Regions from separate parts of the Homo sapiens genome. Here region 1 is linked to region 2. Evidence: promoter capture Hi-C in 16 types of primary human blood cells and fetal thymus (Javierre and others, 2016). All regions are on one chromosome and are shown on one strand. Each heading gives the region's core, a stretch centred on a gene start or on the middle of the fragment in contact. The rest is flanking DNA. Distances are from core to core; before and after follow the strand shown. Region 1 overlaps LOC105370943 (a long non-coding RNA gene). Region 2 holds the start of OIP5 (Opa interacting protein 5).

Region 1 (6,579 bases), core at 1,867-4,366, 420 kb before region 2:
ATTTTTTGTAGTGACGGGGGTCTTGCTAGGTTGCCAAGGCTGGTCTTGAACTCCTGACTTCAAGCAGTCCTCCCACCTCAGCCTCCTAGGGTGTCCGGATTACAGGCATGAGCCACTGTGCCCGGCCCCCTATCACGATATCCATAAGATGCCAGGATGCCCAGGAACCGAGTTTGAAAGACATTGTGCTGCTGATCCCACCTCCTGACTTTACAGCTGCTGAATTGCAGAAGACAAATTGGTAGCTAACAGGAGGCTCCATCCTGGATCCTGCCCCTGTCCGTGAGATTCAGCCTTGATTAACTGTGTTCCCATGCTGGTCGTGAGCAGGGCACCATCCTAGGTCCTTCTTTATACTCATTTTCCATCTCCAGCCAAAATGGGTTGAACCGAGGAACAAGGACATAATCTGTAAAGAGCAAGTGCAAGTCTCTGCTCTGCCATTACCAGCATCAGGCTAATCAAGCCCTTGGAAACTCAATTTCTTCTCCTGTAAAATGTGAATAACTGTTACAGACCTGGAAAGGCTCTTGTGAGGCTGAAATGAGAGCGGTGCCGCCCATCTGTCAAGGTAGCCCAGGGCCTGGCGCCCAAGCAGCCCTGGGCACTTGCCCCTCTTCCCTTTTACTCTGCACCTCCTTTCTGTAGGCGTAGGACCCTGAGACCTGTCCCAGCTCATCCCTCACAAGGCCCTCTGACTTCTTCAGATATCAGAGTGGAATTGGAAGAAAGAAGCTTGCTTGAGTAGGTTTTTCTGGTTTCTTGAACAATGGCGATTCTAAGGAAAAGAGGTTCAGGATGAGAATGAGAGGAAGCCCACAGGCATGTAGAATATGGCCACAGGTGGGACAAGAGTGCTTCCTTGGGATGGGGGTCCTGGTTCCCTGAAGGAAAGGAGACAGGGCACTACTCCAGCTCCAGGAGTCTCATAGGACAGGCCAAGAGGGCTGGGCAGACACCATGCTGGCCGCTGATCAGGCATGACTCCTCTGCCAGCCTGCCCTCGCAGGCCAGCCCAGAACTTGCACAACAGTCGGCCTGGCTGGCACTCTCCCGGGAGCTTCAGGAAGTCCCCCTTGTCCTCCCCTTGACCTTTGACCCCTTGGGCCTGCTGCCGACCAGAATACCAGGCAGATGTTCTCTCTTTTACCTTTTGTTCCTGGTCTTTCCCTCTAAGGCTGGAACTCAGAGATACCCCAAACCCCCAGCTTCCAGCTCATCCTTCCCCATGCTCTCAGTGCGGACCAGCTGGAGCCTCCACTGGGCCGCTCTCCATGTGAGCCAGTGTGGATCCTTGGCCACAGCCGGCAGGACGCTTGCAAGTGCCCCGACTCCAGACATCCTCCCAGGTGTCCTTCCCGACTAGCTCCCTGTCCCAGGCCCCAGCAGGTGAAGCAGGAACAGCAGACAGAGCCTCCTTCCCTCCCCGGCATCCTCTGAACAGTCAAAGTTGGAAGAACCCTAGATATTGTTCCACATTAAACTATGCACGCCTCGTGGCACTCAGTTTCACAATCAAATAACTCCCTCTGGTTTTCTAGTGGAATTTCTGCTTTTATTTTATAGGGTTTCTTGGCTTCTTTTTTTTTTTTTAAGCAATCAGTCTAAATTTGTCATCACACATCCCCCATTTCCGCCCCTAAGGGCCTCCTTTTCATCCCCTGGAATCTGGAAACCATATGTGTGGGCAGAAACCCCCCAGCATCCCCCACTGCACCCTGGCCCAGCCTGGCCTCCGCAGGGATAACCGTGTTAGCTGGGGAAGAGTCTACACTCCACACTGGGGCTAGAAAGGGAGTTTCTCTTTGGACCTTCCCAGCTGAAGCCATGGAGAAGCCGTGTGGTCTAGTGGTTAGGGCTAGAACAGATGGGTTCTGTTCCCGGCAATCTCTTTGACTAACACCAGAAGCCTGGGAAAGTCCCCTTAACACCTAAGGGACTCAGTTTCCCCACCATCTGAGGGGCTCAGAGTTTCACCAGCTAGCTCATCTCCTACCCGCCTTGGTGGAAAGAGTTTTTGATCTGGAATTTCTGCTATGTCACTTACAAGCTGTTTGACCTTGACAAATTGCTTAACCTTTCTGAACCTCAATTTCCTCATCTATAAATTAGAGACTATTATCGTACCTACCACCTGGCTATTGTTGGGATTAAATAAGAAAACATATTCTCAAGGGCCTCGCACCAGACGTACTGTGAGAACTCAAGAAGCAGGCGTTGTGATTGTTAATAATAAGTAGAAAGGCACAAAGAGGTGGGAGTGTGTTCTTAGCGAGTCTGCCCCGGGCCAGACCTGTCTGCCCCTGCCTCTCCTGCTCCGGCTGACTTGTCCCAACCTTCCCTGGGCCTCCTCTGCTCTGGAAGGCAAGGATGCGTTACCAGTCATTGTGGATCAAGGCTGAGGCCTGTCTGCTCGTCCCTGTCTCCATGACGACCCCAGCCCCTCCCCTCCTTCCTTCCTCAAGAGCTTTCTGTTTACTGTAAACAGCTGCCCCAGCTCAGCCCTAGCTGATCCCCCCCACACCCAGGGCCAGCCAGACCCTCTTTGAACCCGGCCTGGACTGGTGTGAAGGTCTGCTCACTGCTTCTCGGGCTCCACAAGGCCTCAAACAAACTCTGTGTTTCCACCTTGCCTGGCCGGGAGGGGAGAGGAGGAGGGGAGGGAACTGTTACCTCAGACCAGGGCAGCCAGGGCCTCAGAGACAAGGAACAGATGGGGCGTAATGGAGGAGGACCACACCAAGAGAGTTGGGTGGAGACATCTCTGGCTTGGCCTTAGACTGACCGGGTTCAAATCCTGGCCTAGATTTGCTCACCGCATGACCTCAGGCTGGTCACTTAACTTCTCTAAGCTTCATTCAATTTATCGATTTATAAAATGGAGATAATAATACCTCCCTCAGAGGGTTGGCTGCTGGGCAGATTGGTAATAATGCATGTAAAACCCCTGGCTCAGGTCTTGACACATTGCTAGCCTACAATGGTGGTGGCTGGACTATTATTTCACTTTTCAGGTCCTCTCCTTCTGCTCAGCAACCTTGCATAAATTCCTGCCTGTTCCTTGACCTGGCATGTCTCAATCACACAGGCCTGCACATACATGTGTACTCAGCAAACATATGAGCTGGGTAATGAAATGAAAATTCACAAGCGTATCTGAGGCACAGGAGACTCAATAAGAGCAGAGGAAAAGTCTGTTTCCTAAGCCCTTCCACAGGCCTGAGCTGGGACGTCCATGTGTGCCACCATCACCAGGGCACTATGGCTTCCTCCCTCTTCCTCCATTTGGCCTCCAGGATTGCACCCACCCTCCCTGCCCAGCGGAGCGCAGTGCAGGGATAGAGGGAATGCTGTATGGGATAGCTCCCCTTTCCTGTGGGCCAAGCTTTCAGGGCAAGATGGTCTGGGATGTGGGGCTTCTGGCTCCCAGCTCCTGATGGGTCCAACTTGGCTCCCTTGACTCTCCAGCATCCTTGGAAGTGCTGGCTAATTAATGCTGCCTTGTGAGATGAGATTTAGACCTGCCATTTCGCTTACCACCAGGCCCGCCCAGCAGCCCTGGGGCAGAACCTGGGGTTAAGCAGGGGCATTCATCAATTTGAGTCATTCCCCACAAGCCCATGAGTAAGTATGGTGCTGGATTTCCAGACCCCTGTCCCCTCCCTGAGATGCCTGTTGGGGTCTTCCAGGGCTGGGTCTCTGTTGGTTGCAGGTACAGCCCTGGGGTTCTCTTGAGCAGGGCGTGGCAGCTGCAGGCTTTCAGGCCTAGCTAACTCCACTGCCCCCACATGCTCTTGCCCACAACCAGGTCTAACTCCAGCGTTTGTGTGCTCACCCCAGCCTGGCTGCATGAGAAAGGAGAGGAGCCCCCAGTACTGAAGTCAGCCCCACGGGTTGGGCTGGAAATCCCCCACTTCTTACCTTGGCTGCTTGAGGAAACAGCCTCCCGGCAGAGGGCCGCCTCCCGCCAGGGACTTTTCTCCTGGGGATGACATGGAATGCAGGGCAGCTACAAGGACCCTAGCCTCACTGAGCCACACATCAGCCAGCCTGAGGGGCAGGGGAGTGTGTCGGTCACCCAGGACCACTCTCTCCCTTGCAGGGAGCTTGGCAGCTAGGGTCCTAGAACCCCTGAGACTTACGCAGGCCTAAAGGGGGAACAGGGAGAAGGAGGCCGTGGGGACCAGTGGTGGCCAGGAATATCCAGACTGCTGCGTGGTCCTGTACCTGGAGCGCACCAGCCCCTCCTCCACACTCCCTTCCCCTACCCCAGCACCCAGCCTGAAACTGGCTTCCAATAGGATGTAAAGCCCTCACTGATCTTCCAGGATGGTGGTCTCCAGACTTTTTTTTTTTTTTTAAACAGATGGGGGTCTCACTATGTTGCCCAGGCTGGTCTTGAACTTGGGGCCTCAAGAGATTCTCCTGCCTTGGCCTCCCAAATTGCTGAGATTACAGGCGCGAGCCACTGTGTCTGGCCTCCCAAACTTTTTTGATTGTGAATATTTATGCATAGATTATACACTACAGTCAAAACACATATTAAATATTATTTATTTTAAAACATTATTTATTATTAAATATTTTATTTATTTATATATTTTTTGGAGATGGAATTTTGCTCTTGTTGCCCAGGCTGGAGTGCAGTGGGGCAGTCTCAGCTCACTGCAACCTCCGCCTCCCAGGTTCAAGCGTTTCTCCTGCCTCAGCCTCCCGAGTAGCTGAGATTACAGGCGCCCGCCACCACACCCAGCTAATTTTTTGTATTTTTAGTAGAGACTGGGTTTCACCATGTTGGCCAGGCTGGGCAGGCTGGTCTCAAACTTCTGAACTCAGGTGTTCCACCTGCCTCAGCCTCCCAAATTGTTTTTTAATTAAAAAATAAATCAAAATAGAAATCATATTTCCTCCCATCCCCCCAACAAATGCCTCACTGGCCCCATATAGGCCACTGTGGAGCCCACTGTGTAGATAGAGGAAGGCAGGAGAGCCTCTCGGAGCAGACCATCACCCTACAAGAGGATCCAGGGCCTGAGGGGGCAAATGATTTTCTTAATCCATTGCCAACCACAATCGAGTAACCCACATCTGAAGCCGTTCTATTTGTTGTTGTTAACTTGAAAAGAAACTTGGTCATCTTAGGCAAGGCCCTGTTGCTGTGGTGGTTGTGCTGCCAGTTCCTACCCCAAAGGCCCAGGCAGCCTGTCCCATCCTAGGACCGCAGCACCCAACGTAGAAAGTGAGAGTTTATCGAGGAAGAACACCCAGCCTGTGTGTGTGTGTGTGAGTGTGTGTGCGTGTGTGTGTGACTGTGAGTGTGCGACTGTGTGTGCGACTGTGTGTGTGTGACTGTGTGTGACTGTGTGTGTGTGTGCGCGACTGTGTGAGTGTGACTGTGTGTGAGTGTACGACTGTGTGTGACTGCGTGAGTGTGTGTGTGTGACTGTGAGTGTGTGTGACTGTGTGAGTGTGTGTGCGACTGTGAGTGTGTGACTGTGTGTGACTGAGTGTGACTGTGTGTGTGTGTGAGAGTGTGTGTGAGAGAGAGTGTGTGTGTGCACATGTGTATGTGTGCATGCACGTGCTGGCCCAGAGTGTGTCATTCTAACAGAACCTGCCCGGTGATGGCCTCTGCTTTCTGGTCTGCTCGTCTTGGAGGCCCCACTTGTGTCACATAGGTACTGAGACACCTGCATTAACCCTTCTGACGGAGTCATAAGAACCCCTGACATTGAATTAGAATCTTTCTCTCGTCTACATCCTCACCACATGGCTGTTTAGGTAGGTGAGGCAGGCATCAATTTGTCCATGGTGGCGGGCAGGGGGCGCCCACGGCACAGAGAGGTTTGGGGAATTGCCCAAAGTCACACCATCTAGTGGAGCTGGGTCTCGCGTGTGCTCCCACCCTTCCTAGGTGTCTTTACTCATGTTCTGCCATCCTGGTCCCACAGGGCTGCTTGACCGTTCAGAATTCTGGCCTGGGAAGAATCAGTTCCCAAGGGCCATGGGACCTCTCTCCTGCAGCTGGGGGGCAGCCTGCCCTTCCTGCCCCACTAGAGAGAAGGCAAGCCCAGGACCCTCTCCCTATCCTTGGACATGTGGGCCCGTGGATAACAATCTTCGCAGGAGCAGGGTCCCTGACGGTAGAGGAGAGAGGCCTGACTTTCCTGCCAAGGCCAGAGTTGCCCCTGGCTCCAGCTCGCCTGGCTGGATCTGGGTCCAGGGCTTCCTCCTTCATTCAAAAGCTCGGCCCTCTGAGGGTGGCAGTGGGGGAGGGGGAAGGGCTCAACCTCCAGCCCCCTCCCCCCATCACTGACAGCTGTAATCTGCTTGGGAAAATCTCTTTTTTTTTTTTTTTCTGCACAGGAAAAAATATTAGTTGTCCCGATAACAAGGAAAACAAAATCTAGCGCAGGGCATCAGAGACTTCCTGAGGCGGGAAACAATGTCCAGTGGAGAGATCAGTGGAGACGGCCCAAGCTGGGAGGCTGAGGGGGAGCTGAGAGAGGACTCTGGTCCAGTCCTATCCGGCCAGGGGGGAAGGGGATGACAGATCGAGGAACTTGGAAAAAAGATTTC
Region 2 (5,823 bases), core at 2,711-5,210:
CTACTTTATGACTTTGAATCTAAGAGGTTCATGCCAATTGTAGAATGTTTAAATAAATGTCGGAGGGAGTATATTTTAGGAGTATTCAAATATGACAGATTGAGAGGGATCAATTTATTTCACATGCCTCATTAAGAGTAAAGTTAAGGCCTGGTGCGGTGGCTCACACCTGTAATCCCAGCACTTTGGGAGGCTGAGGCAGGTGGATCACAAGGTCAGAAGTTCGAGACCAGCATGGCCAACATGGTGAAACCCCGTCTCTACTAAAAATATAAAAATACAAAAATTAGCCAGGCATAGTGGCGTGCGCCTGGAATCCCAGCTACTCGGGAGGCTGAGGTAGGAGAATAGCTTGAACCCGGGAGGCGGAGGTTGCAGCGAGCCAAGATCCCGCCACTGTGCTCCAGCCTGGGTCAGAGCAAGACTCCATCTCAAAAAAAAAAAAAAAAAAAAAAAAAAAAGAATAAAAAGAACCCGAGTCTGCTGTCTCTAAAATTTATGCTCTTTTAGCTGCATCATTAATCATCCTCTTAATTCATTCTCTGACCCCATCTAGGTAATGAACCTACACTTAGAAAAAAATCAAGTTGTCTTGAGCTGTGCCATTTCATAACCCTCTTCGTAAGTCCCATATAGCTCATCTTACTCCACAAATACAGAAACACATGGGGCTTTCCCTCTAGTTTTTTTTTTTTTTTTTTTTCAGACGGAGTCTCGATCTGTCGTCCAGGCTGGAGTGTAGTGGTGCGATCTTGGCTCACTGCAACCTCTGCTTCCCAGGTTCAAGCCATTCTCCTGCCTCAGCCTCCCAAGTAGCTGGGACTATAGGCGCTTGCCACCTCGCCCCCCTAATTTTTGTACTTTTAGTAGAGACGTGGTTTCACCATACTGGCCAGGCTGGTCCCGAACTCCCGACCTTGTGATCTGCCTGCCTTGGCCTCCCAAAGTGCTGGGATTATAGGTGTAAGCCACTGCACCTGGCCTTCCTCCAGTTTTTTACAAAGCATCTAAACAAGCATTGTCTAATAGGAATATAATGTGAGTCACATATGTAATTTTAAATTTTCTATTCATTTTGCTTTTTTTTTTGAGGAAGAGTCTCGCTCTGTTGCCCAGGCTGGAGTACAGTGGGATGATCTTGGCTCACTGCAACCCCCGCCTACCAGATTCAAGCAATTCTCTGCCTCAGTCTCCCAAGTAGCTGGGATTACAGGCGCCCGCCACCACGCCCAGCTAATTTTTGTATTTCTAGTAGAAACAGTTTCACTATCTTGGCTAGGCTGGTCTTGAACTCCTGACCTCGTGATCCATCCGCCTTGGCCTCCCAAAGTGCTGGGATTACATGCATCAGCCACGGCGCCTGGCCTAATTTTGCTTTAAAAAATAAAATAAAAACAGGTGAAATTAGTTTTTAAATATTTTATTTAACCCAATATATCAAAAATGTCATTTCACCATGTAATCAATTTTTTTTTTTAAGACAGAGTTTCGCTCTCGTTGCCCAGGCTGGAGTGCAATGGCGTGAACTCGGCTCACCACAACCTCCACCTCCCGGGTTCAAGCGATTCTCCCTCCTCAGCCTCCTGGGATTACAGCCTAGCTGGGATTACAGGCATGTGCCACCATGCCCGGCTAATTTTGTATTTTTAGTAGAGACAGGGTTTCTCCATTTTGGTCAGGCTGGTCTCGAACTCCCGACCTCTGGTGATCTGCCTGTCATGGCCTCCCAAAAGTGCTGGGATTATAGGCGTAAGCCACCGCTCCCAGCCGTAATCAGTATTTTTTTTTTTTTTTTTTTGATACGGAGTCTGTCGCCCAGGCTGGAATGCAGTGGCGCAATCTCGGTCACTGCAAGCTCCGCCTCCCGGGTTCACGCCATTCTCCTGCCTCAGTCTCCTGAGTAGCTGGGACTACAGGCGCCCGCCACTATGCCTGGCTAATTTTTTGTATTTTTAGTAGAGACACGGTTTCACCGTGTTAGTCAGGATGGTCTCGATTTCCTGACCTTGTGATCCGCCCGCCTCGGCCTCCCAAAGTGCTGTGATTACAGGTGTGAGCCACCACGCCCGGCCCGTAATCAGTATTTGTAAATGATTAATTTTTCTGTACTAAGTCTTTGAAATCCAGTGTGTATTCTGTGTTCACAGCATATCTCAATGCAGATTTAATAATATATAATAGCTACATATGACTAGTGATTACAGTATAGGACAGCACGGGTCTAGATTCATTAGCCTCCTCTCCAAGAGCACATTCAGGAACCTTCTGCCTCTGGCCCCAGAATACACCCAATTCCAAGCAGGCAATTGCTCCTTCTTGCTTTGTCCCCTTTGGGTGGGAAGGGGACTCCTATAGCGATAGGGAGTGTCTTTTATTCAGGAAAAAGAAAGGGAGCTGTGGGTCTAACTCCGTTTTTGAAGTTTGTCCAAGCTGCAGAAATCTTCCTGGTTACTGGACAAAGCAACTAAGAATTCCTATATTTTAACCGTAACGTTGAATCAAACTGGTCAGAATGAAATGAATTGTCTCAATGTTAAAGCCAAAACTCAAAATTGAGGAGCCTTGCAATACCAAATTCACTGACTACTTTATTGTCACTTGTAAATCATAGTACAGGCAGGTCGCAAAGTTTACCAGGCAGTATTCAAGTACATAACATTCTAGTTGTGTTTTTCTCCAGTTTCTGGGGTTACTGAAGAATTAGCCCTGGCATAGCTTATTACAAACTAACCATAATCGCAAACTTAAAAGTTCTAATATCAAGCGTGGGCAACATACTAAGGCCTCTACAAAAAATTTAAAAATTAGCCGGGAGTGGTGCTGTGTGCCTGTAGTCCCAGCTACTCCGGAGGGTGAGGTTGGGAGGATAGCTTGAGCCAGGAAGGTAGGGGCTGTAGTGAGCTATGAGCGCACCAGTGCACTCCAGCCTGGGCGAGAGCAAGACCCTGTATCAAAAAGTTCTAATATCTAAAAGGATTGTAGTTTATAGTATGTTATTCTCACTGTAAACCAAAAGGTTATTTTTTTCTTTTGTCCACTACTAGATACATCTTTCTTAGCCTCACTTCACTTGTACAAGCCACCTGGGAGAAGTGGCCCTCAGGAAGATCCTAAAACCAATACACAAATACAACTTTTTCATTTCATTAATACATCAAGTTCATATAAGAGTCAAACAGGTAAAAGCAGCATCCCAAACTGTTTTCTCCTCGTACATGTCAGTTCCACGATCCTCAGTCTCATAAAGTCAGGGACTAGAGACCAATGTAATTATCAATACGTACCTGCCTTTGAGTGAACCTTCAATGCCAACTAGGAAGGGCGCTTCCAAAACGACGTTATTTGTAACTCCTAGGAAGACAAACACGGGTCAGAACCCATACTCTGCGGGCCTTGAAATGGAAAATCTCTCCTCTAGACAGACTCATCCTGGCCGTAAATATCAGGAGACTCCCCGATTCCCTGCCCCATCCCCAGGCCAAGGAGTTATTTGCTTCCAACTTTTCATCCCGTTTTCTTCCCCAGGTGGTTCTCCGCCACCCGGTGGAGAAAGCGGGAACACCCTCTCGGGCTAGCCTCTGCCTTTCCCGAACGCTTCACTGCACTCACTGGAGAAGACCACGGCCCCGAGGGACCGCGACAGGTCCCAGGCGAGGTGCACCGAGTCGGCGAGCACTGCGTGACACTGTGCGCACTGGAACACAGCGCACCTCTCAGGCTGCAGCCAAGACGGCAGCTGCGGGCCGGCGGCTGGCTCCTCAGCCCCCAGCCCTGCGGGGCCGAGCGGCGAGGACCCCTTCACCACCTGCGTATCCCACTCCATGGAGGTCGTAAAAGAAGCTTGGTCAATCGCCCTCTCAGTGCCACCACAAAAGTCCCCCCGGGGCGGCGTTGCACAACGTGAGCGATGCCGCAGCGGCTGAGCCGCCATCTTCCCGCAGCCGGCGCCTTCCTTTCGAATACACGCCAGGCCCCGCCCCAAGCACAGCTCCTGCGTCCTCATTGGACATCATGGGCAATCCAAGCACTGGAGTCCGAGTCCGCGCACTCGTTACCTGAACAGGCGTTACAGGCCCTTTGGCGCCTGCGTATTCGTGAAGTGTGAAAAAAGCGCGCCTCTGTTGGGACGGGAAATCAGCCTTTCTATTGGTCAGGGTTAGAAACCCCGCCTTTGAGGCATTTTCAACCAATGGAAGCGCGGCATTCTTCATTTAAACTGTCTATAAATTTCTGCCTAGTCAAAGTTAAGAGTGGCGCCAGGGATTTGAACCGCGCTGACGAAGTTTGGTGATCCATCTTCCGAGTATCGCCGGGATTTCGAATCGCGATGATCATCCCCTCTCTAGAGGAGCTGGACTCCCTCAAGTACAGTGACCTGCAGAACTTAGCCAAGAGTCTGGGTCTCCGGGCCAACCTGAGGGTACGGCGCTGGCGGTGCGGGTCCCTGGGCGGGCGCGGCGGGAATAGCGGCCTCGGGGAGATGCGGTGCGAAGGGACCGAGAGGGAAGCCCGGGACTGAGGCAGCTCTCCCTGCCCCTCGGGCAGTAGATGTGGTTCACGGTAGTCCCAGTTAGAACTCTGATAAACGGAAGAGGAACTGTAGTTTTCACCTCATTTTGAAGCTGGCTTGTCTGGGTGCTCACATGATAAGCTCTATTCCGAGGGATGGTTTATTGTTTTTTGTTTTGTTTTGTTTTGAAATTACTGTATACCTCTCAGGGCGTCGATTACGAAACTCAGGCCCAGAAAGCACAAGGGGTGTCGTTAATCGTTAGACAATTAAGTAAATAATTGGCTCAGCTTCTGGAAAACCCCAAACAGACTCCAGTGATTTGTAATATTGCCGATAATCTCTTGATACTTTATTGATGGACCTGTCAGAAAAAAAAAATCGACTTTTAGGGGAGCACCTCCTTGGGTAAATTTTTATTGATGACTGTTGGGTTGATGGTCTCTATCAAAACCAGTAAGGTCTTTGACTCCGAGGCTACAAGATGTTTGGAGAGTTGGCCCGGCGCTGTGGCTCACGCCTGTAATCCCAGCACTTTGGGAGGTCGAGGCAGGCGGATCACCTGAGGTCAGGAGTTCGAGACCAGCCTGGCCCTTAAAAAATTAGCCGGGCGTGGTGGCACACGCCTGTGATCCAAGCTTTTTGCCTGTGATCCCAGCTACTTGGGAGGCTGAGGCAGAAGAATCGCTTGAACCTGGGAAGCCGAGGTGGCAGTGAGCCAAGATCGCACCACTGCACTCCAACTTCGGTGACAGAGAGAGACTCAGTCTCAAACAAAACAAAAACAAACAAAAAACCCAAGATGTTAGAAGAAGATTTGGGGATTTAATGTAGGATAGCGGTTTTATATATTTTGTTAATAGTTGAGACTTCCCACATAATACTGCTATATACTCTGGAGGTTTCTCCTGCAGGCTGTGATACTGACAGTGAGTAAATGCTTAAATCAATCGTCACAATTTTTTTTTTATTTGTTTGTTTGTTTGTTTTTTCTTTGAGACGGAGTCTTGCTCTGTCGCCCAGGCTGGAGTGCAGTGGCGCCATCTCGGCTCACCGCAACCTCCGCCTCCTGGGTTCAAGCGATTCTCCTGCCTCAGCCTCCTGAGTAGCTGGGATTACAGGCGCGTGTCACCACGCCTGGCTAATTTTTGTATTTTTAGTAGAGATGGGGTTTCACCATGTTGGTCAGGCTGGTCTCGAACTCCTGACTTCCTGATCCGCCCGCCTCAGCCCCCAAAGTACTGGGATTACAGGCGTGAGCCACCCCACCCGACCTAAATTGTTTAAACAAAATAATCAGGGCCTAAGTGCCT

What was found. The method cuts DNA at HindIII sites, captures the fragments that hold promoters and counts their contacts. A CHiCAGO score of 5 or more calls a contact.
Region 1: a contact is called between a fragment that was not itself captured here and the fragment with the promoter of OIP5 in region 2, in 2 of 17 cell types (naive CD4 T cells and naive B cells). The highest score is 5.8, in naive CD4 T cells.

What each region holds. Positions count from the first base shown.
Region 1 is chr15:40,908,818-40,915,396 of GRCh38, forward strand. LOC105370943 (a long non-coding RNA gene) reads left to right here. Exons shown (of 2, transcript NR_135836.1): 2 at 12-534. Among named protein-coding and RNA genes, the nearest start is that of DLL4, 17 kb to the right of the region's middle. RefSeq lists an enhancer at 6,480-6,579. The HindIII fragment of the contact is 533 bases long and covers 2,851-3,383 here.
Region 2 is chr15:41,328,631-41,334,453 of GRCh38, forward strand. OIP5 (Opa interacting protein 5) reads right to left here and starts at 3,961. Exons shown (of 5, transcript NM_007280.2): 1 at 3,610-3,961; 2 at 3,285-3,351. The coding sequence starts at 3,931. NUSAP1 (nucleolar and spindle associated protein 1) reads left to right here and starts at 4,251. Exons shown (of 11, transcript NM_016359.5): 1 at 4,251-4,420. The coding sequence starts at 4,328. RefSeq lists an enhancer at 3,715-3,974. The HindIII fragment of the contact is 1,308 bases long and covers 3,839-5,146 here.